Regions from separate parts of the Homo sapiens genome. Here all the other regions are linked to region 1. Evidence: promoter capture Hi-C in 16 types of primary human blood cells and fetal thymus (Javierre and others, 2016). All regions are on one chromosome and are shown on one strand. Each heading gives the region's core, a stretch centred on a gene start or on the middle of the fragment in contact. The rest is flanking DNA. Distances are from core to core; before and after follow the strand shown. Region 1 holds the start of FAM167A-AS1 (FAM167A antisense RNA 1). Region 2 overlaps GATA4 (GATA binding protein 4). Region 3 overlaps GATA4 (GATA binding protein 4). Region 4 has its middle 41 kb from the start of GATA4.

The links. The method cuts DNA at HindIII sites, captures the fragments that hold promoters and counts their contacts. A CHiCAGO score of 5 or more calls a contact.
Region 2: a fragment that was not itself captured here is called in contact with the fragment with the promoter of FAM167A-AS1 in region 1 in 4 of 17 cell types (naive B cells, total B cells, M1 macrophages and 1 more); the score reaches 11.2 in naive B cells.
Region 3: a contact is called between a fragment that was not itself captured here and the fragment with the promoter of FAM167A-AS1 in region 1, in 1 of 17 cell types (total B cells). The highest score is 6.2, in total B cells.
Region 4: a contact is called between a fragment that was not itself captured here and the fragment with the promoter of FAM167A-AS1 in region 1, in 4 of 17 cell types (naive B cells, total B cells, fetal thymus and 1 more). The highest score is 9.8, in naive B cells.

Annotation. Positions count from the first base shown.
Region 1 is chr8:11,365,855-11,372,104 of GRCh38, forward strand. FAM167A-AS1 (FAM167A antisense RNA 1) reads left to right here and starts at 2,548. Exons shown (of 7, transcript NR_026814.1): 1 at 2,548-2,598. It also overlaps the pseudogene TDH. The HindIII fragment of the contact is 6,691 bases long and covers 1-4,673 here.
Region 2 is chr8:11,747,791-11,754,040 of GRCh38, forward strand. It overlaps GATA4 (GATA binding protein 4), which reads left to right. Exons shown (of 7, transcript NM_001308093.3): 3 at 1,126-1,295; 4 at 2,321-2,446. Among named protein-coding and RNA genes, the nearest start is that of LINC02905, 10 kb to the right of the region's middle. The HindIII fragment of the contact is 705 bases long and covers 2,007-2,711 here.
Region 3 is chr8:11,708,804-11,715,053 of GRCh38, forward strand. GATA4 (GATA binding protein 4) reads left to right here. Exons shown (of 7, transcript NM_001308093.3): 2 at 1-125. Among named protein-coding and RNA genes, the nearest start is that of SNORA99, 6.6 kb to the left of the region's middle. RefSeq lists enhancers at 253-1,178, 1,179-2,102. The HindIII fragment of the contact is 9,957 bases long and covers 1-6,250 here.
Region 4 is chr8:11,659,990-11,666,239 of GRCh38, forward strand. No RefSeq gene overlaps it. Among named protein-coding and RNA genes, the nearest start is that of GATA4, 41 kb to the right of the region's middle. The HindIII fragment of the contact is 736 bases long and covers 2,492-3,227 here.

The DNA of each region.
Region 1 (6,250 bases), core at 1,298-3,797:
ATTGAACTGCTAGACAAAGAATGGAGTTAACATTTAAGCATTTTCAGAATGTTGTAGGTATGGTGGTGGGACTTTTCAGTTTTTGCTGTTTGCCTGAACTTGTCTAAACACATTCCACAGAATAAGGCTTAAGTCATCATTAGTTTCCATTTCCTTAATTAGGATGAAGTGACTATTTCTGGGAAGCTGGGAGTATGTGACATTTGTGTTTAATTAAATTCAATTTAAATATTCCTCTTAAGACTCGATTATTCTCTTGACTAAAGACCAAAGATTACATTTTAAGGACTTTCAAAGAGGTACTCCTCATTTATAAGTATTCTTTACTATCCCAGCGAAAGTAAAACATGTTTGGTGTATTCATCCCATGTCTATCACATTCAAGATATTTTGACACTGCTTCAAAAATTATAATTTCTGGTTTTTCTGTAAGATGCTAGATCTGTGGGAAATTAAGAATTCAAAGATGATGTAACCAGCGAAGGGTAGCCCTGCTCTTATTTTGATTGCCCTCCTATTAGTGAGCTAAATGTAATTCCCAGGAACATAATTCCCTGACCTGGCAACATCAGCATCTAGGGAGATTGTCTAATACACAGGTTTCTGGGCTACATCCCTTTAGATTCACTCATTAAGTGCCAGGTGCCACTGGTTATTTGAATCCAGCTGAGGCCCACTAGTCAGACCAGTTTAGACCAATGCAGTTTTCTAAAGAGCACTTTCTTGTTGCATCTTTTTTTTTTAAGATATTCCTGGGTTGAGCTTTCAGAAGGGCTACTCTAAACCCTCTGATGCAATTACCGTATAGATACATACAGGTTAACTTTTTAAGTTGAAGTTAGGCCAAATCAATTTCTGATTGTATTTTATGGTAAGGGAATGAGTGTGTTCAGAAAATGCTTTCAATCCGGTCATTTAAAAAAATATTTCTGGTGCAATACTGTATAGACACGTACAGGTTAACTTTTTTCCAGCGACCTCGGAATGTACTGCATGTAAAATCACTAGGAAGTGAAACTTCCAGTTCCACAGATTAATCATGGATATATTTGATAACAGCTATCAAGGATTAAAAGGCGTTTATTTATGTTGCATGCTTAATAACAAAATGTTATGCATTTGGAGTTTTGAACTGTTAGGTCAAAGCGTGGATTTTTTTGAAGGCATAACTGGATTTAAAATCTATTTGACTATTAACTGGAGAACTTTTAGGTAATTGAATTGTTTAACAGTTACATTACTGTAGCTTTTTCCTCCACTTAATAAGGTTTATGTTTGTAGATTTTATTTTTTTGTTATTTTTCTTTTGGGCTGCTCTTGAGAGGCAGGAAGATTTTATTTTTTAAAATCAGAAAGTTAGTAATGAATTCTTTTTTTGAAAGTTTGAGATATAGTTTACATACCATAAAATTCACTCATTTATAGTTCTGTGGTTTTCAATGTATTAAAAAGTTTTGCAACCATCACTATAATCTAATTTTAGGCCATTTCATCACCCCACAAAGAAATCATATTATATAAGCCCTTCCCACCCTCGGCAACCACTAATGTACTTCTTCTGTCCCTGGGTTTGTCTGTTCTGAGCATTTTATGTAAGTGGAATGTGGTTGTCTTTTAGTGGCTTCTTTAATTAAGCAGTCCATTTTCAAGGTTCATCCATGTTTTAGCATGTATCACTACTTCATTTTTTATTGCTAAGTAATATTCCATTGTATGAGTAATCCTCTTATTTTCTCTATCCATTCATCCATTGAGGGACATTTAGGTTTTTTGCACTTTTTAAGCTATTATGAATAATGCTGCTGTGAACATTTGGGTAGATAATTGAGTTTTAAAATGATTGCTTACTGTTTATAGTTTAAAAAACAGTTCTTAAGTTTGATTAATTTATTCTCAGTTATCTTAAAGGAACAAGCAATTCTTCCCTTTCATAAGATAAGAAGCAGCAACTCGAGTGACCTTTGTCTCCTAGACCCTAACCTTCCAGCATTTCTACCAGGCTCCTAGAATGACCTTTAATTCGGATCATTTGGAGGGGTTTGTTCCAAACAGGTTCCTTGAATCTTTCCCAATCTGTAAACACACCTCCAGGAGATCTCAAATAAGAGTGAAAAAATAATGAATGCTTCAGCTTCTTTGGATGATTCTTATTCACTGACATCTTTGTACTCCAAGACTAGAATTAGAGTTGTCCCTTCTGTCTGAACACTCAGTATCTGGTGCACATCTTGGGATCCCGGAGCCCATCAATGTTTTCCTGTAAAATGCTTTCCGTTCTGTTGGGAGAAAGGGTTTTTTATGATTAATTTGGAAATAACCCAAAAAGCTATTTGAAGGAAAAGTGGGTTTAACCACAAAAATAGTTTATTTATAAATAAAAAAGAAAGAATACAAAGATTGGCTTTGTTCTGATGTTTTACACAGGCTACCGGTGGTTATTAGTTTTCTGCTCACATGTTTGTGTGTGGCGTTGCTGGGATGTGCCTTGTGTTGCTACACAAACAGCGATCCCGAAGTCTGCCAGCAAGATAGATGGCCTGGAGTCCAGAACAGACTGGATTAGTGAAAGCTACTGCAGTGCTTTGGACACTTACTATGGTAGGTGGGAGATATTTAGTATTTTTTAATTCACATAGGCCAAATCACCAATTTGTGATTGTATTTTATGGTAAGGGTGTTCAGAAAATGCTTTAAATTCTGTCATTTTAAAAAAATGTTTATTAAGAGTTCAGACAATTTAAAAGATATATAATAAAGTTGTCTTCCCCTCCAAACCCAATCAATAACATGTTAGCAGTGTAGTGTGGGACCCAGTGCAGTGGCTCACACCTGTAATCAGTACTTTAGGAGGCTGAGGCAGGAGGATTGCTTAAAGCCAGGAGTTCAAGACCAGCCTGGACAACATAGCAAGACTCTCATCTCTACAAAAATAATTTAAGCCAGATGTGGTGATGCACACCTGTAGCTGCTACTCACGTGGCTGAAGCTGAGGGATCACTTGTAGCCAGGAGTTTGAGGCTGCAATGAGCTATGCTTGCGCCACCATACTCCAGCCTGAGCCACAGAGCGAGACCATCTCAAACAACAACACACAAAAAAACTAGTGTATACCTTTTATTTTCTCCTGTGCTTATACAATCTAGGAGTGGAAGGTGAAACCTTTTTCTTTTCTTTTACTATAAAAGTAGTGCTAAGACAATATTGTCAAAAGTTTTGGAAAAGACTCACTTTCAATTTTTGCCATGTCACATGGTAGCTGTTTTAAAATATTCTCCAGTCCTCTATGCGTTACAAAGAACTTACATGTAGTTTTAACATTTGCCATTTAAAGATAGCTGCATAACTCGTTGAATGGAGTATCATAATGATGTCATTCTATTTAATTGCTGAAACCTAGAAGTACAATTACTGGGTCACAGGGCGTAAACACCTACTTGCCTCTTCATTTTATGTGGTCAAATTTATCTTCGGAACGAGTTGGATTAATTTGTGATGAAATTCTCGACCATCAACACCTTCCTCTTGGCACATATTCATGGACCTCAGTATGGTTTACATTTGTTGAAAAGTTTTATTTTTGTGGCTGGGTGCAATGACTCATACTTGTAATCCCAGCACTTTTGGGAGGCTGAGGCAACAGGATCAGTTGAAAGTTTTATTTTTCTAAAAGGTTTGAAGAATATAAACTTCATTTTTTGCTGGAGAATCTTAACATTCTAATACAAGAGCCGTGAGTGAATAAATCCTAGATCTCACATAACCGGATGATAACTGCCTCTAAATCAGTGAATTGCTTCCAAAAATCACCGGTGAGAAAGGAATCTTGTTTTTTAATGATTTTTTTTTAGGGTAGTCACTTTAAAAAAAATTATTTCATGGCACTGTTTTTATAGCTTTAGTATGTTTGTCTATAAGGTAGCTAAACAGGCCACCCCTTACCTTCCAATGTGAAGATCCCAGAAAACTTTTTTTTAGCCAACTTACATATATAAAGTTTAGGATTGTAGATGAGAGGATAAAATAGACACCTGTACTATTAGTTGCAGGTGTTTCAGATTTGTTAATCTATTAACCAGCATGTGGGCTTTCCCTCTTCACATTCGCATTTCAGGCATGTCACTCCGACTTCGTATTTGATCTTGGTGCCCCCTTTGGCATCCCCTAATAGGTTAAGAGCAGATGATCTTTTTTCTTTCTAAGTTGTTTGGGATGCAGCAGTTTCGGGGTCTATGTATGATGCTGTTGGTGGACATTTATCCCAAGCCACAAGTATGCCTGTGTGTAGGTAGCACTAGGGCAGCTGCTTTTCAGAATCCACAGAGCATTGCTTTCGATTTTTAACAGGCTTCTTTCCAGTGACACCAAATACTTGTAACTGTAGCTTTATAATCCTAGAGACCGTGACTGTTAATGTGCCTCCTTTACAACTTATCCTACCAGCCACAATATTAGCATTGCTTAAGGTTGTTTGAGGCTAATAATGTTTCCACAGAACAATAACTTGTATTCTTTTCAGGTTACCGACAGCATTTAGTATATCCTGAAAGAGTGTAATGTTTCAAATATAAGGTGAGCATCCCTAAGGGGATAGTTTCGGGAGATAACTCTGCCTTATTTTGGGAGTATATGTGATACCTTGTCTGTTGATCCATTTGTCTGAAGTCCTTAAGAAAAGCTTTTCTCTTTTGTTAAAAGGTCAAAAATTTAAAAATTATTTTGCCCAGTTCTTTCTTTACGCTGTAAGTACAATTCTTCTGTACCTACATTGCTGTAAGAAGTTTAAATATAATTTGTAATTTAAGTTGTAGTATGAAAGAATGAACCAGAACAAGTAGCTGCCTCCAAGGTTGTACTTTCCCAATTTTTTAATATTCAAGGCACCTAGAAAATGTATCATTAAAAATATGTTATTAAAATATGCTGTTATTTGTAATACACACTATTATTTTTATGTTCTAAGAAAGGAAGAAAACTTGCATTTAAATAGACACAATGGCCAAGTGCAGTGGCTGATGCCTGTAATCCCAGCACTTTGAGAGGCTGAGGGAGGAGGATCGCTTGAGTCCAGGAGTTCAAGACCAGCCTGGGCAACACAGGGAGACCCTGTCTCTACAAAAATTGGCTGGGTGTCATGGTGTGAGCCTGTAGTCCCAGCTAGTTGGGAGGCTGAGGTGGGAGGATAACTTCAGCCCAGGAGGCAGAGGCTGAAGTGACTATGATCAGAGCATTGCACTCCACCCTGGGCAACAGAGCCAGACCCTATCTCTGAAAAAAACAAAAGAAAAAAGAAACAGAACGCTTTCTTGTTGTTTGGACTTTTTACTTTGTATCCCATTGAGGAGCTCTTTGAGACTTTGCTAGATGCAGATGTTATCACTTGCGCATCTGTAGAAACGGATCTAGAAATGTATGTTTGTTTGTTTTCCTGAAACTTCGGGTTTTGCTTTTCTGAATCACTTTTTGACTCAGTGGTTGGTGTCTCTGGTTTTTCCACCCAGTGTTGTTCTCTGTGCCAGTATGAGTTTTATGTCAGAGCACTCCTTAAAAGAATTCATAAAACCTAAAAGTCACTGGCACTGTAAACCAGCTTTATAGTTACGCCAATCTCGCCTACTTTTGACACCTGCTTTAGGAATGTGCTAACTCTATTTGGTTTGCCCAAAACCTTAAACTCTTTGGTTCCTAGGAGTTACAATGATGGCTGAATGTTTCTCCTGGCCTCTGACACCCACTGCGCAGGGTTCAGTGCTGTGTTTGGAAGGTGCCTATGTCACCAATAGGCAATGCTAGCACTATTACAATCACAACCTGTACAAAAGAAGTTGTAGGATAATCCTGATTTCAAATACGTAAAAATCTGGAAGAAAATGTGAGTCTTAGCAGAGGGTGAGATGTGGTTGCATTTGCAACCACTAGTGTGCCAGGGCAGTCCCCGCCCTGCTCAGACTGCTACCTCGAGGGCTGAAACGATCCCAGGAAAGCTCAGCAGTAGATGGTCACTGCAGGGCTCACACCTTCCTTTCGCATGGCTGGGGAGGGGGGCGTTAGCAGATGTGGTGGGCACTAAAGGAGTTGCTAAGGTTGGCAGCAAAGTGCCAGGCCTCATGGGAGAAAAGAGGAGATGGGATATGAGCTGCCAGGAGACAACGGTTGGGAAGAGCAGATTGTCCCATGGGGGGTTAGGTCCTGTGTGGTTCCTAGGATGCGATCCATCCTTTTTGTTCCATAAAATGTTAGGCGATGCTTTCGT
Region 2 (6,250 bases), core at 1,109-3,608, 380 kb after region 1:
TATATGATGGAACAATGGTATATGAGTGTATAAAGAATTTTATAAAATGAGTTTATAAAGAATTTGTCATTGGGAAAATGTTTTGGTATTAAGCAAACGACCCACACAGACTCAGAATTATATAGCTTGGCAAAAATATGGATCAACATATGAAAGTCTCACAAGGCCGGGTGTGGTGTACTCACCCAGTACTTTGGGAGGCTGAGGCGGGTGGACCATTTGAGGTCAGGAGTTTGAGACCAGCCTGATGAAACCCCGTCTCTACTAAAAGCACAAAATTAGCCGTGTGTGGTGGCGCATGCCTGTAATCCTAGCTACTTCGGAGGCTGAGGCAGGAGAATCGCGTGAACGTGGGAGGCAGAGGTTGCAGTGAGCTGAGATCGCACCATTGCACTCTAGCCTGGGCAACAAGAGTGAAACTCCGTCTCAAAAAGAGAAAAGAAGTCTCACAAAGGGCTGGGCACAGTGGCTCATGCATGTAGTCTCAGCACTTTGGGAGGCTGAGGCTGGAGTATCGCTTGAGCCCAGGGGTTCAAGGCTGGACTGAGTTATGACTGCACCACTGTACTCCAGCCTGGGTGACAGAGTGACCCTGTCTCTAATAAAAAGAATAAAATAAATACAGTCTTACAAAGGATACAATAGAACCAAATGCTCAAAACATTAGTGACAATCTGGATTTTCTTTATATATTTTGGCACTAATTTTCCTAAGGTAAATATTTATTATATCTTTATGCAAAAGGAAAAGTAATCTTACTAACTTTGAAAGGGAAAAAGAGAGAGCAAGGTTTGCGTGGACCTCAGTGTGAGGTGAGAGGCCTAGGGCTGGAGGCTCTGAATGTGATACCTGCACTGAAATCCAGGTGTCCCGCCTCCCAGCCCAGGACGTGGGTGATCACTGCAACTTTTTCCTCTTCTCGTGCTCAGGGGAACTCTCAGTGTCTGGGATTAGGGAGCAGGGGCTGAAGTCAGAGTGAGGAAGAGCAAGAGCAGCCCGAGGTGGTCTTCTCTTTCCAAGGAAAGGGCATTGTTTCTGTGCGCTCTAGATTCTCAGATGTGAGAGCTGGGCATAAACAAAGAATTAATCCTCTGTGTCTTTTCTTGTCTGTTCCCCCCAACTCAGTAGATATGTTTGACGACTTCTCAGAAGGCAGAGAGTGTGTCAACTGTGGGGCTATGTCCACCCCGCTCTGGAGGCGAGATGGGACGGGTCACTATCTGTGCAACGCCTGCGGCCTCTACCACAAGATGAACGGCATCAACCGGCCGCTCATCAAGCCTCAGCGCCGGCTGGTAAGCACGTGCCTCGCAGCCTCCTCTGGGCACCTGGCTGCGGAGCTCTCGCCTTGGTGGGACATCCTCTGGTTTTGAATTTTGGAACTTGAGGGTGTGCATCGGGGATTACGTGGGTGAGAGCCCCATAATAATTCTCACAACTTTAGAGTTAGCTGGAGCCACCAGAATGATCCAGGCTGTCTAGTTCAACCTCTTCGGCACACAGAAACTGAAAGTGAGGCTCAGAAAAGCTAGTGGCCTTGCCCACAGCCACTCAGGTACTGAGTCTCCCATCTAGAACTCTGGAACCAGAATCCAGGTTTCCTGGTTCCCAGTCCAGTGTTGACTGGAGTGTCTCCTCCACCCACACCAACCCTGCAAGGAAGGTCACCTCAGAGGCTGGTCTCTACCCTGACCTCAGTTGATCAGTTGATAAATCCCAAAGCCCAGAAGTGCAAGCAGCTTGTGTTGGGCCCCGTGGCTAGGGAAGAGTTTGGGCCTGGGGCTTGGCTCCTGGCTTCCTGCTCCTTTTTAATATAATTTGATTCTGGTCAACACCAACCAGCTTGCACTATATTAAGGAGGGAAGAACAGAGGGGATAAACCTGGTGCCTCCCTTTCTTGAGGTCCCAGGGCCATTCAGACTTTGATACCATTTGGACACCGTGATTCCTCACTCTCTGCCTGCCCCCGGCACCTGCAGCCCCGGTCAGTTCTCCTCTCAGGAGAAGCTTTCCTGCCGGCAGTGCCCGGCGCTCACTGGTTATTCGCCTGACGGTGAATGATGGTTAGGACTGGAAACCAGGTCTCGATGCCCACGTTCGCTCTCCTCGGGCAGCAGAAACCTTGTTCTGATTTATTCCTCGCAGTGGCGCAGGTGACAGGAGAGTTAGGTGCCGTCACAGGTCAGAGATCTCATGCAGGGTCGTTAGGGCCCAGCCCTGCCTCCCGTTAGGGAGGCCCAGCTCCGCAGCCACACGCGAGGTGGAAGGGCAGTGCACACCTTTTACTTGGACATGAAGCATTTGTTTCCTGTCTTGCAGTCCGCCTCCCGCCGAGTGGGCCTCTCCTGTGCCAACTGCCAGACCACCACCACCACGCTGTGGCGCCGCAATGCGGAGGGCGAGCCTGTGTGCAATGCCTGCGGCCTCTACATGAAGCTCCACGGGGTACGTGGGTCCTGCGCCCATGCGGCATCCTTGCCTTCTGATGCCCATCTCTCAGTCCTCCCTTGTCTTCTTCCTTTGTACTAGCATTCATTTTTCCTTCTTAACAAAGAGACTTAGATTTGGAAGGGGCTTTCAACTACTTTGCTGGCCTCTTCCGTCCTTTACATTGTATAAGTGAATTTTCCGTTTTACAGATGAGCAGGCTACATTTATATGTAGCAGTTTGATGTGTAACAAAGGTGACGTTTCGATTCAGTGGATAAGAAGCTTAAGGATAGTTGTATTGACAAAATTGGCTGTTCATTTGGAAAACAGAAGGAAAGCATGACCTCTACCTCCTACCTTAAACAAAAATAAACTTGGGTGAATTAAGGATATTACATGTAAAACATCTTTGAAATAAACTAAAAGTAAGGCCAGGCATCATGACTCATGCCTGTAATTGCAGCACTTTGGGAGGCTGAGGCAGAAGGATTGCATGAGCTCAGGATTTCAAAACCAACCTGGACAACATGGTGAAACTTTGTCTCTACTAAAAAAAAAAAAAAAAAAAAAAAAAATCTAGCTGGGCATGGTGGTGCATGCCTCTAGTCCCAGCTACTCAGGAGTCTGAGGTAGGAGGATGGCTTGAGCTCAGGAGTTTGAGGCTGCAGTGAGCTCTGATTGTCCCACTGCACTCCAGCCTGAGTGACAAAGTGAGACCCTGTCTCCAAAAAAATAAAAATATTAGATAATAAAATACTGCAAAGAAAATCAGACAATAAAAACACTGGAAGAAAATGTAAGGGAAAGTATTTATATAACTTTGGGGATGGGAGAACTTCTTAAACAAGATTTTAAAACTTTTTAGCCATATAAGAATAGTTAGATATATTTGATTTTGTAAATATTTACTGTTTGTGCCTGGAAATGATACCTAGGGAAAGTAAAGACCAATACACACAGTATCAGAAAAAGGGTTAATATTTCCAGAATTACAAGGAGCTTCTACAAAGCTCTTTAATTTTTATTGGAACATTCTCCATTATACAATATTAACAAAAAGGCAAGGTGCCCAACACTACCTACTATGGCACTATTTTTATAAATATGAGGAAGAATATAATTTATAGGTGGTTGCTTCCACATATACAGAACACCTCTGGTAGGATATGTAGAGATTGGTCACATGGTCACATGTATGCATATATACGTACATGGGGTGCCTCCAGGAGAAAAACTGGGGTCCTGGGGAGAAGGGATTGGAAGGACACTCTTTTTGCTGTGTACCCCCTTGGTACCTTAGACGGGACATATGCAAGTCTTAATTGTTCAAATACAAGTTAAATTAAAACCAAACCAAACCAGAAACAGATAGGTCTTGTAGCCTAATAAGAAAAGAACAATTGATCTTTCCCCACTTCCCCCAAATGGGCAAAAGATATGGACTGACATCTCACAGAAGCTGCCCAGATAGCCATGAAACATGTGCACATATGCTGAATCTCACTAAAAATCAGAGAAATGTACCTGAAAATGACCATGAAAGTCCCTAGTTTGCCCATATACTTGGCAAAAATTAAAGTGTTTGCTGCTATGGATTTGGGGAATTAGATACTCTCATATATTATTGATCTGTATTTGAATTACTGCATCTATTAACTTAGTGGTATTTTTTAAGGTTGAAACCATGAACACCATTATATCTGGCAGGTCTACTGTTGGGAAACTAGCCTATAAAAAATAACCAGTACATGATGACCTTTGAACCATTTATTGCTGCATTGTTTGTGGTGGCAAAAACTAGAAACAACCTTAAAACCCCATAAAGGAATGGTTGAAAAAATTCTGCTATATCCCAAAATGTGGAATATTGAGAAGAAACTTAAAAATAATAATCTAGGGCCATGTATCTTGATCTAGAAAATGAAAAAGCACATTGCAAAGAAATATATGTAGCATGACCCCATACTATGAGTGTCGAAGGTGCATTAAACAGACATACATATGGATGGGTGGACAGACCAGTGGATGGGTGAACACACACACACAAATATACACGTATAGGTGTATTAGTCTGTTTTCACACTGCTGATAAAGACATACCCAAAATTAAAAAGTGGCTTAATGGACTCACAGTTCCACATCGCTGGGGAGGCCTCACAATCATGGCGGAAGGTGAAAGGCACGTCTTACATGGCAGCAGGCAAGAGAGAATGAGAGCCAAGCAAAAGGGGTTTCCCCTTATAAAACCATCAGCTCTCATGAGACTTACTCACTATAGTGAGAACAGTATGGGAGAAACCGCCCCTGTGACTCAGTTATCTCCCATCAGGTCGGTCCCACAACATGTGGGAATTATGGGAGCTACAATTCAAGATGAGATTTTGGTGGGGACACAGCCAAACCAAGTCAATAGATATATATGTGTACAGATGTTTGAGAATTTTTTTAAATGTAAGAATATATAACAGGCTGTTAAATCCATTTGCCTCACTGGGATAGGATTGACGGTAGTAGAGTGAGAGGGCTGTTGTTAACTTAGTCTCATGTATCTTTTCATGATTTCTTGTTATAATGAACAAGCAAATGGCTAAAGTTATGAACATTCATAAGAAAATATTTCTACAAAGCATGTATACAAGGATGTTTGTTAATCACTGTAATAGCAAAAATGGAGGAAAGAAAACCTTTGGAAGGAAAATGGTTAAACTATTGTTCTTCAATATGGGAATGGTACAAGAAACTTATTGGGAAATATTATATAGGTATTAAAAAGATTATATTCTCAGAAAATAAAAAAATAGAATTACCACATGATCCAGCGTACCATTTCTGGATATATACCCAAAATAATTAAAGGCAGGGCCTCAAAGAGCTATTTGTACACTGCTGTTTATAGCAGCATGATTCACAATTGCAGAAAGATGTAAACAACCCAAGTGTCCACGGAGAAATGAACGGATAAACACAGTGTGATATACATACACGTAGGATATTACTCAGCCTTTAAAAGGAAGGGAATTCTGGCCCCTGACACCACATGTCAAATCCATAGAGACAGAAAGTAGAATGGAGGCTGTCGGGGGCTAGGGAAAGGGGGAATGAGGAGTGATGTTTAATGGGTATGGAGTTTGAGTTTTGCAAGACGAGAAGAGTTCTGGGGATGGTGGTCAGGCTTGCAGAACGGTGTGAATGCGCTTAACACTACAGAGCAATATACTTCAGAATGGTTCAGATGGTAAATTTTAAGTTAGGTGTGTTTCATTTTACTGCAACTGAAAAAAAAAAAGCATACCTAAGTGAATGGAGATTAACGTGAGGGGGAGATTCTTCTGAGGCCAGAATGGGTTTGAACATTTGAGGCATAGCTAGGGGGATGGGGTGGGGGAGGACACCCTTCCACAAGGTGGGAAATAGGGGTCTGGGTGTAGAGTCACAGAGAGATGTGCAGATGGTGGGGTCGGGGGGTGCAAGTGCCACCCCATCTACCCACAGTTAAATAGGAGGCCAGTTCAAGTTCACATATGCTGGTGCATTTCTCGCTTAACCATTGCGTGTTCATGTCTCTGAAGCAGTAATTGCTTTTCTTTCTGTATTTGCAGGTGTGGCCTTTATCAATCCCACATGGTAGACAAGCACAGCATAGAAAAGGGGCTAAAAGATTTGGCTCAGCCTAAGAGAAACCAGATGTGGGGAAGGCACCCTGCAGTCCTGCTCCCCAGGACTGGCTTAGGCATCTGTGAATGGCTCTGGGGCCTGCCTCCCAACAGAACTGTGGTCAAAGTGTTGTCCAGGGACATTTTATCTCAGAACCTGGTCACA
Region 3 (6,250 bases), core at 1,416-3,915, 340 kb after region 1:
TTACATGGCCGACGTGGGCGCGTCCTGGGCCGCAGCCGCCGCCGCCTCCGCCGGCCCCTTCGACAGCCCGGTCCTGCACAGCCTGCCCGGCCGGGCCAACCCGGCCGCCCGACACCCCAATCTCGGTGAGTAGGAGCGCGAGGGCTGGGGCGCGTGAGGGCCGGGGCAGGGGCCGTCTTGAGCCCTGTCGAGGGCCTCTTGTTTTTCCACCAACGCCTTCGTTGGGCTGGGGATGGTGCTTCACTACCTCGAGTTTCTAGGGAAGGCAGAAGCCAGTGCGGGGCTGGCGACATCACAGCCCCAGAAGACCGGCTTCTGTGGAAGGGGCCGGGCCTGCCCGCCGGGGCCTCTTCTGAGATGGTGTCAGGGTCGGAGTGCGGCCTCCCCGCCATCCCAGACATCGACCGTGGCCGCGCTGCGCTGTGGGTGACGCGGGAGGACAGCGGGCTCCCTGGAGAGCCGGGGGCAGCGGCCTGGGATTTCCTCGTGGAAGGTGCTGGAGATTGCTGAGTTTCTGCGCCCCTTTCCTCCCCGCCCGCCCTCGGGCCTCCGCAGGGAACTGATTACAATGGTTTGGACCGCAGACCTTCTGGGCCATTTGGCGGCCCAGCTGGAGGATCCCTCGGGGTAGCTGATGATTTTCCCGTCGGGGGTCTCACACCGAGAACAAAGGAGGGATGGACAAAGGAGACGCCGGGGAGATGCGCGGAACAGGAGCCGGCACTGTGCGGGTGCCACCCGGCCGAGCGCGTGGGCGCATCATGCGGGCAGCGGGGGGGGGGGCGCACACGCCCGGTCAGTGTCCGGGAACATAGGGACCTCAAACGCGCTTGTTCATGACACCCGAGTTAAATGGAGACTTTGCAGTCGCTTGCACGCGTGGAGCCTCCTCTTCTCGCGTGGGCCAGGGTTGGAAATAACCGTTGTGGTAGGTTCCATGCAGTGTTTCCATCGGATGTCAGACGGGGAGGGACGGCAAACCTGTCTCAACCTCCACTGATTCACAAATAAACGCAGCGGGATCTGAGAAGGGGCCTGAGTACACGGGCCGGGGGAGAAAGGGAAGTGGCAACCCCTAGTTCAAAATGCAAACGACCTCTGGAATTTCGGGAAGAGACGGAGGAGTGAGTTTGGATTGAGCCCACCCTGTGGGGGAGGGGAAGCCCAGGCTTGAGAAGCAAAGCTCGCGTTTATTGACCACCTACTAAGTGCTAAATCCTTCTGCATTTGTTCTCACTTTGAAGAGTAAAGGCTACCCCTGCCAGGTTTCCAGTCTTGGGCTGGCTCCGAGAAGGGCCTAGGCTTTGAAGCGCTTTTAAATTGTCCTCTGGCCCTGGGTGGCCAGGGAAGGTTCCCGGGGGTGCAGCCAAATACACATCGCCGGCAAACTGATTAACCCTGAAAGTGGCGCCGAGGCCCGGTCTGTGGCTCTTGGTGTTCCCCTCCCCCTCACCCCTCTTGGGGGAGCCAGACGGCCACCCCCAGGGGAGGAGGGGCCCGGCCGAGCCTCGCCGCGACTTTTGCGAGATAGCGCGGCGACATGGCCACACAATGGAGCCCGCAGGCGGGAGTGCGGGGCGGGGCGCGGCGCCCTGGCCTTGCGCGCTTACGGGGTCCTCTCCAGGGCCCTCTGGGGCCTCTGACTTAAAATAGGGAGGACTGGGCCAGGAGATCGAGACCATCCTGGCCAACCTGTTGAAACCCCGCCTCTACTAAAATACAAAAAAAAAAAAAAAAATTAGCGGTCGTGGTGGCGCGCGCCTGTAGTCTCAGCTACTGGGGAAGCTGAGGCAGGAGAATCGCTTGAACCCGGGAGGCAGAAGTTGCAGTGAGCCGAGATCGCGCCACTGCACTCCAGCCTGGTAACAGAACAAGACTACGTCTCAAAAAAAAAAAAAAAAAAAAAAAAAAGGACTGGTCCAGGGAGAGTTTGCTTTGTAACCCCGACAATCCTGGAGGGAATTTGGTGTTTGGTTAAGGAAAAGAGAGAAGTTAAAAGTCATGAGTTACATCCAGCAGTGTAAAAACGAAATACCCGCCGGGCGCGGTGTCTCACGCCTGTAATCCCAGCACTTTGGGAGGCCGAGGCAGGCGGATCACAAGGTCAGGAGTTCCTGGCCAACATGGTGAAACCCCATCTCTACTAAAAATACAAAAATTAGCTGGGTTTGGTGGTGTGTGCTTATAGTCCCAGTTACTTGGGAGGCTGAGGCAGGAGAATCGGTTGAACCCGGGAGGCGGAGGTTGAGTGAGATTGCTCCACTGCACTCCAGGCCTGGCGACAGAGGGAGTATGTCTCAAAACAAACAAACAAAAAACCGAAATACCATGTGAATGCACACAGTATTCAGATTTTGAAATGTCAGCCATGCCATGTAGAGGTTGCTGATGAAGTGATGTTTCCCAAATTCCCATGTCAGCAAATGGCAAGCTGACCTCCCTGTGCGTCTCTCTGCCAAGAACTGCCACCTGCCTTCTCTGGGCTCTTCCCGGATAGCTTATGAAGTCCACAGCCTTTGAATCTGGCCTAGAGGGTGGTTTTTCTCTTCTGCACCCAGCCAAGTGTTTTAGGAGAGGTGCGGCTCTCTGTGAGGGAACACAGGGCATGTTGAACTTGTTGGCATTCATAGCTTCAGCGTGTTATGCAGGTGGCACTTACATAAAAGCAACTGAAATTAAAAGCAGTGCATGTGGCCAGGCGCAGAGGCTCATGCCTGTAATCCCAGCACTTTGGGAGGCTGAGGCAGGAGGATCATTTGAGGCCAGGAGTTCGAGGTCAGCCTGGGCAACATAGTGAGACCCCATCCCTACAAATCATTTTAAAAAATTAGCCAGGCTTGGGGTGGCATGCCTGTAGTCCCAGCTTTGGAAGCTGAGGTAGGAGGCTCACATGAGCCCGAGGCCACTGCACTCCAGCCTGGGTGACAGAGTGAGACCCTCTCTCAAAAAAAAAAAAAAAAAAAAAAAAACCAGTGCATGTGAATGTGCTTTTTATATGTTCTTCCCATTACTTGGGCTCTCCTACCTGCCTGGCAGCTTTAGTGAGGACCAGCATCACATAGTAGCTGACCCTGAGTCATGGAGGGAAGATGAGAACTGACCCCAGCTTTCTGAGGAGTTGCCACTGAGCCCTAAGATGGCCAGACAGTGTGGTGGGAGGAGCACAGGGTTTTAAAGTTGGGCAAACCTAGATTCAGTTCCAGGAGCCTCGTGTCATCTTGGGCAAGTTACTTACCTCTCTCGGTCTCACCTCTTTTTCTGTAAAATGGGATCATCATAACAATTTTTAGTGTTGCCTTAAATTAGAAAAGTAAGGTAATACTTTTGAAGAATTTGGCTTTAGCCCTTCATAAATGATGGTTATTTTATTGAATAGCCACTCACTGTCATGTAGAGTTACCAATTTTGCTGGTGTGCCCAGGACTGAGGGTTTTCCCAGAATGTGGGATTGTTCGTGGTAAACCTGGGACAGTCCCCAGTGAACGCAGATTGTTGGACACTCAATGTGAAAATGGGTGCATTACCCATCGTTGTGGTTTGGTAATGAGCTGAGAACAAAGAAGAAACAGCAGAGGAGAAGCAGCTGAGAGCAAAGGAGAAGCAGCATCATTCTTCCCTCTGCTGAGATTCTGGAAGTAGTCATTTAAGTGCTGCCAGCTTCATTTGGTCTTGAAGGGTGAGTAGGAGTTTGTCAGGAAAAGAACCAGCAATTTTTTAAAAAAAGAAATATTGACCATTTTATAGGAAAAAAAAGAAAGACAAAGAAAAAGAGGCCAGGTGCAGTGGCTCACACCTGTAATCCCACCCTTTGGGAGGCTGAGGTGGGAGGATTGCTTGAGCTCGGGAGTTTGAGACCAACCTGGACAACATAGTGAGACCACATCTCTAAAAAAAAAAAAAAAAAAAAATTAACTGGGCATGGTAATGCATGCCTATAACTCCAGCAACTCAGGAGGCTGAGGTGGGAGGATCGCTTGAGTCAGGGAGGTTGAGGCTGCAGTGAGCCGTGATTGCACCACTGTACTCCTACCTGGAGAACAGAGCAAAGACCCTGTCTCAAAAAAAGAAAAAGAAAAAGAAAGGATATACTCTGCTTTACTAATATGTTGTGTAGTACCATGAAATAATACAATGCAACCTGGCCTTTGATTTAAATAATATATTTGTCACAATAGGTAAAACTATACAGACTAATTAACCTTAACTCAGAAACTGTTTTTAATTTCAATGAGGAGAAACAAGAGAACACTTTTTTTTTTCTATGTAACTGCTGTAGTTTTAACAATATCTTGCCATAGTTCTTATGTTGGTTATGTGAATAGGGCAAAAATCAAAACAATAATAAATAATAAAAGTTAACAGGGGCCTCTGTAAAGCCCTGAACTTAGGTTGGAAGAAATAAGTGTGGCCTGACTGCAATGTATGTGAACTTTAATTCACTCCAAGTTCCATATGAGCTACGACCCTAAGACAAATGTTAAAATCATTAATTAGGCTGCATGAATGGAATTATGTGACCTTACTGAGGGCAGGTACAGAGTCTTACTCATTTTTAAGTGCCTGGCACATGTTGGGCACTTAGCAAATATTTGCGTAGGGATCTTGGTGGTAATTGCCCCAGGACTCTGCCCTGCCTGGGTCCAACCACACAGAATGGCTGCGTGAGTCCTTTAAGAAGCAAACTGGAGAGCCCTAGGGGAACGGTGGGCAGGATGGAAGAGGGTTCTGGAAACTTCAGGGAACCACTGGAGGAAAGCAGGGCTTTTAGGCTGGAGAAGTCACTGAGTGGATGAAAGCAAGATGGAGTATGACTGTGTCCAAATTTCTGAAAAGCAAAAAAAAAAAAGAAAAAAAAGACCATGACCTTTTAACTCTGTGTTAGTGAAGGTGAGCAGATATTAGATGTGAGAAGAACACTCCTAGACAATTGTGGTTGTGTGGAAATGCAGTATAGAATATGGCTTGTCTTCATCATAAACTCCTGGGCGCTGGAAGCACTTGTGGTGGAGCTCTGCGGATAGTTCTTGCCTTGCAGGGCTAGGATAGGATCTGCATGTGCCTGTGAAACGGACGTAGCCGGAGAACGTAGCTGTTTCCTTTTAAAGAACCCAGTCACGGTGGTTACACGTGTATCTCCATATGGCAAAATTGTGGAGCTGTGCTCTTAAAATGGGAGTCTTTTATTGCATGTACATTACACCTCAGTGAAGCTGATTTTTATACCAGTTAATGCTTGTGAGTACTTAAGGCTGAAAAGGAGACCGAAATGGAAATAGATTGTAAATATGCCTTGACGGATATATGGTGGTAGGTGTTACTGGAAAGGCTAGGAAAATATATTTAAGTATGGAATAACAATTATTTTGTGTAATGGAGACATAAGCAATTATGATATTCTCCAAGGATTTCAAAAAGTTTGAATCATTTTTAGAGTCGATAAAAATAACAACACAATGAAATACATGTACAGTATATCACTGTGTTATTCAAACAATTTATTTAAAAGAAGTTTTGCCCCATTAGGGATGGAGTGGGGGCATTCAAGGTGTTCTCAGAGTTTTTTTATGGTGCAGGTCAGTGAAAAACCCCGAAGTGTTTTCTGGATCTTTTGGGACCTGCTTATCAAGTACGCTAGTGGCTTTCAAAGCCGGTTCATTTGTGCAGGGAACTTTGTGAGACTGGAGAATGATTTGTCGATCTTCAGGAAAACCAAAGTTGTTTAACTTTCCGGTTACCACCCTGAGCAGGTCAGTCAGAGTTGGGGTTGGTCTGTGGTGCTAAGCTGAGAACGAATTAAATAAGAAAGGTGTGTTGGGGTGGCCAGGGGTGTGTCACTACCTCTAGTGAGCCCTGTCACTTGCCCAGTTGTGTCCCATCAAAAGGTCAGGCCACATTTGCTAGGCACTTTCTAAGCACTCAGGTGGAATGATGCCCGGGAGACAGTTCTAGATAACGCTTTATTCTGTATCCCTCCCCATTTCTTTTCTAACTTAAATGCACTAAGAAAACAAACACACTGAGGTGTGGGGAAACAGGAACTCTGATACCTGTGGGTGGGAGTGTAAATCGCTCTGACCTTTATGGAGAGTCTTAGGTGTAGTAGCCATAAAATTGCAAAGTAGACAGCCTGGACTCCGGAATTTTCACTTCTAGGGATTTGTTCCACAAGCACACCGGCACATATTAATTTCAGCATTGCTCGTAATAACAAAATTGGAAATAATCTAAATGTGCATCCTTAGGGGAATGT
Region 4 (6,250 bases), core at 1,610-4,109, 290 kb after region 1:
TTTAAAATGGGCAAAGGACTTGAACAGACATTTCTCCAAGGAAGATATACAGATGGCCAGCACTCGTGAAAAGATGCTCGACATCACTAATCGTTAGGGAAATGCAAATCAAACTAAGAAAGGGGAGTTTAGACTACATAGTTGGTGGGAAGAGGCGGACAGGCCCATGCAGTTCTGAAGAAGTTACCCAGGGAGAATGAGGCATCCATTTCATTGCGGGGCTTGGGGTGGAAGCATAAGATTAGACACTCCTCTGGGTGGATAGAGGTGACATGCCAGTTCACACAGGATGTTCCACTGGGTGACTGAAAGGCCACTCCCAGGATTTTCACTCTGACCATCTTGTTATTCAACCGAGAGCACCTAGGAGTGAGAGAAAAGGCAAATTCGAGGCCGACTAGCACCTTGTGGTCGCCCAGGGTGGGTCCCAGGGAGGCACTGCTCCAGCAGTAGCAGAGAAGGAGTATGTCGCTGCCTTTATGCACCTCCGGGACCACGCGGGGTGGACCACACTCATGGAAGACCAGCTCTGAAGCCTGGGAGTTGGAGGGGCTTGATCACGGTCTCTCAGCGGGTTAGGGGCAGAGCCTGGCACAGGCCTCTCACTCCACCACACTGCATCCCCTCATGACTTTCAGCCTGACACCAACCATCTCACAGATTTTTCAACAAGTGACCCCCAAATATCAGCAACTTCCTCATGTCTCATGTAAACTACTTTCCCTCCTTTGACCTTCATCACCTTTCTGCTTTCTTCTCCATCCTTATTTCTTTATTATCCAAGTGAAGACTTCCTGCCTTACCCAAAGCTCCGCGTGTCACACAATTGTCACTGGCATTATTTTTTTCTGTAGGCGTTTGCAGCCGACCTGATGCAGGAACAACAGCCTCTTGGAGTCTGTGCTCTCTCTGCACCACGGCCCTCAAACTGCATGGAACAAGTGCATCAGTTTGTGAGACTCCGCGTCTTAAAGGCTTCTTCCATCGAGAGAGACGGTACCTGTTCTTTTCTCCTGGGTAGTCTAAACAAGCATCTTAAGAAAAAGACATTTATTGCCAAGACAATTGGAGATAAGGGAAAATCATCTGTCTGCCAAAATGGCTTGCGCTGGGCCTGAGCTGTGGCATTGTCAGAGTGATTTTAGCACAGACCCTGCTAGACATGAGCCTATTACAAATGCTAGATAAGGCCCTCGTTTTTATAGAGCTCGGAGGAGTAGAGGGGAGACGGGGAGTTGCAGTGATAGTCGCCACTGCAGATAAGGAGAATATATATTTTGTTTAACCAAACCTGTCCGTTGGCTAGAGACTCCAATGCACTGGTATCCATCAAATCCTTCTCTGATTTACACAAATCTACACAAATACCTGATTCCCCCGATAAGGAAAAGTGTAAGTCAATACTGCTCAGTTGTAATTGGGTGTTACCTGCCCCGATACTGGACTTTTTATCTGCAGCTCCTTTTGCAGGCTCGCTCCAGCTTTATCTGCCTCTTAGGTGTGACCAAATTGTCGTGTGTGCGTGTGTGTGTGTGTGTGTGTGTGTGTGTGTGTGTGTGTTGGCTCCAAAGGTTTATTCACGAATAGATCCCAAAGAAATGTCACAGAGAAATAGTGACTTGAAGTCCAAAGAGGAAAAAAAGGGAGGCCGCAGGCACATGATGGATCTGTGCAATAGTCATACGTAAGCCGCCGTGATGTCCACACCACGGAGACCCCGTCTGCTATGCATCACCCATAGCACGGGCAGCCGAACCCCAGGGCTGCCCTGATAAGAGGCCGAAACGGTGGTAAATCATCCCACACCTCCATCCCACACCTCTGGACTCAGTTTCTCCATCTATGAAAGGGAAAATTCTGTCCACTGCCAGGTATTTATCATGAGGATAAATGAACTGCATTGCGCCAAGTGATCTTGGAACAGGAAGGCTGGTGGATTAAATAAAGATTTACAAAGAATTATGTCCAAATGATCCTTATTTATGATGTGCTTGGTGAGGGTAACAGATGAGAACTCGAAGAGACCCTGGGAGAACCTGCTTCCAGTGCCTCTTTTTCCAGATGGAAAAAAAAAAAAAAAAAACAAACACCAAAATTGAGGCCCAGAGAAAAGAAGGAACTTGCCCAAGATAAACTAACCCCTTCCCCACCTCCACCTTCCTTAGCTGGGTAAGGCAGGGCTCAGGAAAGACAAGTTTTGCTACAAGCTGTCCTCAAAGCTACCCTTCTAGCCCTGAAACGGGTGTGCTCAGAAAGAATTTTTAGCAATGCAAAGAAAAATTGTAGTAAAATGTTAAGGAACATAGCAGAATAAAAAAAAAATTGCTCACATCCTATGAACTGCAATAATTGTGTGTGTGGGGGGAAACAGTATTTCAAAACATGAAAATAGTTGTGTTTGGAAGTGGGTTTTATTTTCAAATTTTGTTTCTATTGTTATTGCTTTGTTACTGGTCTGTTACAAATTATTAACATTACATTCTGTTTGTAAAGCTTTTGTTTTCAAGCAATGCAGCAGTGAATAAAATGTTTTAAAAGAAAGAAAGAAAGAAAGAAAAGCACTGCCTTACTCCCACTACCCAACCCCCTAATCTCATTCTCCCAGAGTAACTATTTTTACATTTGCAGGGTCTTTCCAGACCTTTCTTGGATACAAATTTGAACCTAAATGTTTGAATTTCTGTGTTTTGTATGTAAAGGGGATGGTGGTGGTGGTGGTGGTAGTTCCCTGGTACTATTATTCAACAAACAAGAACAAACCGTTCTGTGACCCAAGCCATTCAAGGGAGGCGAATGCACTGTTAGCGCCACCAGGAAAACGTGGCTTGTGAGCTGGGTGAGAACAGAGTTCATTCACCTCCCTCAGGAGAGACTTTACTCCCAGAAAGACTGATTCAGGCCAGCTCCGGGTGGCCTGGCTCCTTCCCCCCCAGCCCACAAGGCCCCCAGGTTTATTGGCCTCATGGACTCAACTAGTACCATTGTAGTCAGAGGTCAGTTTAATGGGAGGTGGCTCTGAGACAGCAGCGAATTGGTGTATTTGAGTGACTTGACAAAAACGAATAATAAGACAAGAATTCTGGAGAGAGTAGGTAGAGCTGACATTATGTCCAATATATTGTAATGTGTGTGGATAATATTCCTGGGAAATTCACCACCCTTCAGACACCATCTTTGTAAAGCATTCACTTATCTTCAACCCTGGGTTGTCCTAGTGTGCTAATCCAAGCTTTGGAACAGGACGCTATCATAATGCCAGTAGCCCTGTGTAGGATCCCACCATTGACACAGCATCCCCATCAACACTTATCCCATCCCTTGATCCCAAAACACTTGGAGCAGGCTCTCCATATTGAGGGTTTCTAGCTTTAGCAGATAAAAATGCAGGATACCCAGTCACAAGTGAATTTCAGATAAACACCCAATTATGTTTCTTAACTAGTTAGTGTTGGTATGAAAGTTAATTTCTTCAGAAACTTCTTTTATAACCAGCTACCGTATAAAACTATCTTATGAGCTGGGGTACCAGCCAGGGACCAGTGAGGAGACAGAAACTATATCAGTATTTTTAACAGATAATATAATAAAAGGAATTGTTAACTAGGCATGGAAAAACCACTAAAGCAGAAAGATAATCCTAACGTATGATGAAGGTAGAGACTGCAGAGGCAGATATTACTTGTAAAGTTGGGCAATCAGAAGAAAAAGGTTGAAATTATTAACATTTAGACACTTGGAGGAGAGGCCCATGGGGCTGGAAACATATGTCTGAGGAGGGGGTGAGTGACAGACAGTACTGGCATCTCTGACAGCATCTTGAAGAGTTTGTTTCTGCAAGAATAAGAAAAACTGGGCTGGGCGTGGTGGCTCATACCTGTAATTCTAGCACTTTGGGAGGTGGAGATGGAGGGAACACTTGAGCTCAGGAGCTCCAGACCAGCCTGGCCAACATGGTGAAACCCCATCTTTACCAAAAATGCAAAAATTAGCTGGGCGTGGTGGCACATGCCTGTAATCTCAGCTACTCAGGAGGCTGAGGCAGGAAAATCAGTTGAAGCTAGGAGGCGGAGGTTACAGTGAGCAAGTATCGTACCACTGCACTCTAGCCTGGGCTACAGAGTGAGATTCCATCTCAAAAAAAAAAAAAAAAGACAAAACTGAAAACTGGATTCAGCTGCTGCTACAAGAATGAACTGTTGCTGCCATGATAGAGAGGCTAGAGAAAAGCATTTATGACTAGGAAGCAAACGAAAGGTGTATTTCCTTCACCTCCACAAGCCTTGTAGTCTCCCTTCATTGTTGTCTGTGGGCAGAACCTGATACAGAGCCAGCCAGAAAGACAGAATGGTGGCTTATAGAATCTCAACCCCACAAGCACAAGACAGAAAACAGAAAGGCAGAAAGGTGGGTTTGAGGCAGGGACTACAGCTTAGACTTCTGCAGTGTGTAGGTAAAAATGATTTTGCTTCTTCCCTTCCAATTCTTCTGTCTCTTATTTTTCTTATATTATTGCATTGGCTAGCATTTCCGGAATACTGATGTTGGGCATCTTGCTTTTGTTCCTAACAAGCATGAGAACATCTCTTCTGGTTTTTCACAATTAAATAATGCTAGTGGTTGGCTTGAGTCAGATTTCAAACTTTTTTTATTTCAATAGCTTTTTGAGTACAAGTGGTTTTTTGGTTACATGGATGAATTGTACAGTGGCAAAGTCAGATCTTTATGCACCTGTCACCCAAGTAGTATACATTGTACCCAATAAGTAATTTTTTATCCCTCACCTCCCTCCCTACCTCCCTCTTTCTTCTGAGTCTCTAAAGTCCATTATACCACTCTGTCTGCCCTTGCATACCCGTAGCTTAGCTCTCACTTATAAGTGAGAACATACCGTGTTTGGTTTTCCATCCTTGAGTTATTTCACTTAGAATAATGGCCTCCAGCTCCAGTCAAGTTGCTGCAAAAGATATCATTTCCTTTTTTATGGGTGAGTAGTATTCCATGACATATATATTTGCTTTCGCTACTCATTAGTCAGTGGGCACTTAGATTGGTTCTACATCTTTGCAATTGAGAATTGCATTGTAATAAACATATGCATGTGGGTGTCTTTTTGATATTACTTCTTTTCCTTTGGGTAGTTACCTGGTAGTGAGATTACTGGATCAAATGATAGATCTACTTTTACTTCTTTGAGAAATCTCCACACTGTTTTCCATAGAGGTTGTACTCATTTACATTTTCACCAGCAGTGTATAATGGTCCCTTTTCACCACATGCAGCCAGCACCTATTGTTTTTTAATTTGTTAAATAGTGGCCATTCTTGCAGGGGTAAGGTTGTATCTCATTGTGGTTTTAATTTGCATTTCCCTGATAATTAGTGATGTTGAGCATTTTTTCATATGTTGGTTGGCCATTTGTATACCTTCTTTTGAGAATGTCTACTCATGTCATTTGCCCACTTTTTGATGGGATTATTTGTTTCTTTCTTGCTGATTTGTTTGAATTCCTTGTAGAGTCTGGAAATTAGTCCTTTGTCAAATGAATAGTTTGCAAATATTTTCTCCCACTCTGTGAGTTGTCTGTTTACTCTGATGATTATTTCTTTTGCTGTACAGAAGCTTTTAGTTTAATAAGGTCCCATTTCTTTATTGTGTTTGAGTCAGATATTTTTATTATATTATGGGAATATCCTTCTGTTCTAATTTTTTAGTGAGAGTTTTATTTGTTTTAATCAAGAAAGGATGCTACATTTGGTTAAATGCCTTTTCACTCCTATTGGTATAGTTGTATAGTTTTTCTTCCTTTGACTGAATACTGTAATAAATTTTATTGTTTCCTAATATTTTGTTTTATTTTTTTAGAGATGAGAGTCTTACTCTATCACCCAGGCTAGAGTGCACTGGTACAATCATAGCTCACTGCAGCCTTGAACTCCTGGGCTCAAGAAGTCCTCCTGCCTCAGCCTCCCAAGTAGCTGGGATTACAGGCATAAGCCACAGTGCCTGTCTGTTTCCTAATATTAATGACCTGGCTCCCTAAGGGAAAACCCTATTGAACATTGATATTTTCTTTTAATATACTGCTGGATTCAGCTTGCTAATATTTTATTCATTTAGAATAGTTACATCAATATTAAGAATAATAATTTCATTAAAATGACTCCAAATTTATACCAGTTTTATCCTTCATTTATCCTAAAAATATCAGGCTGGGTGGAGCAGCTCGTGCCTATAATCCCATCATTTTGGG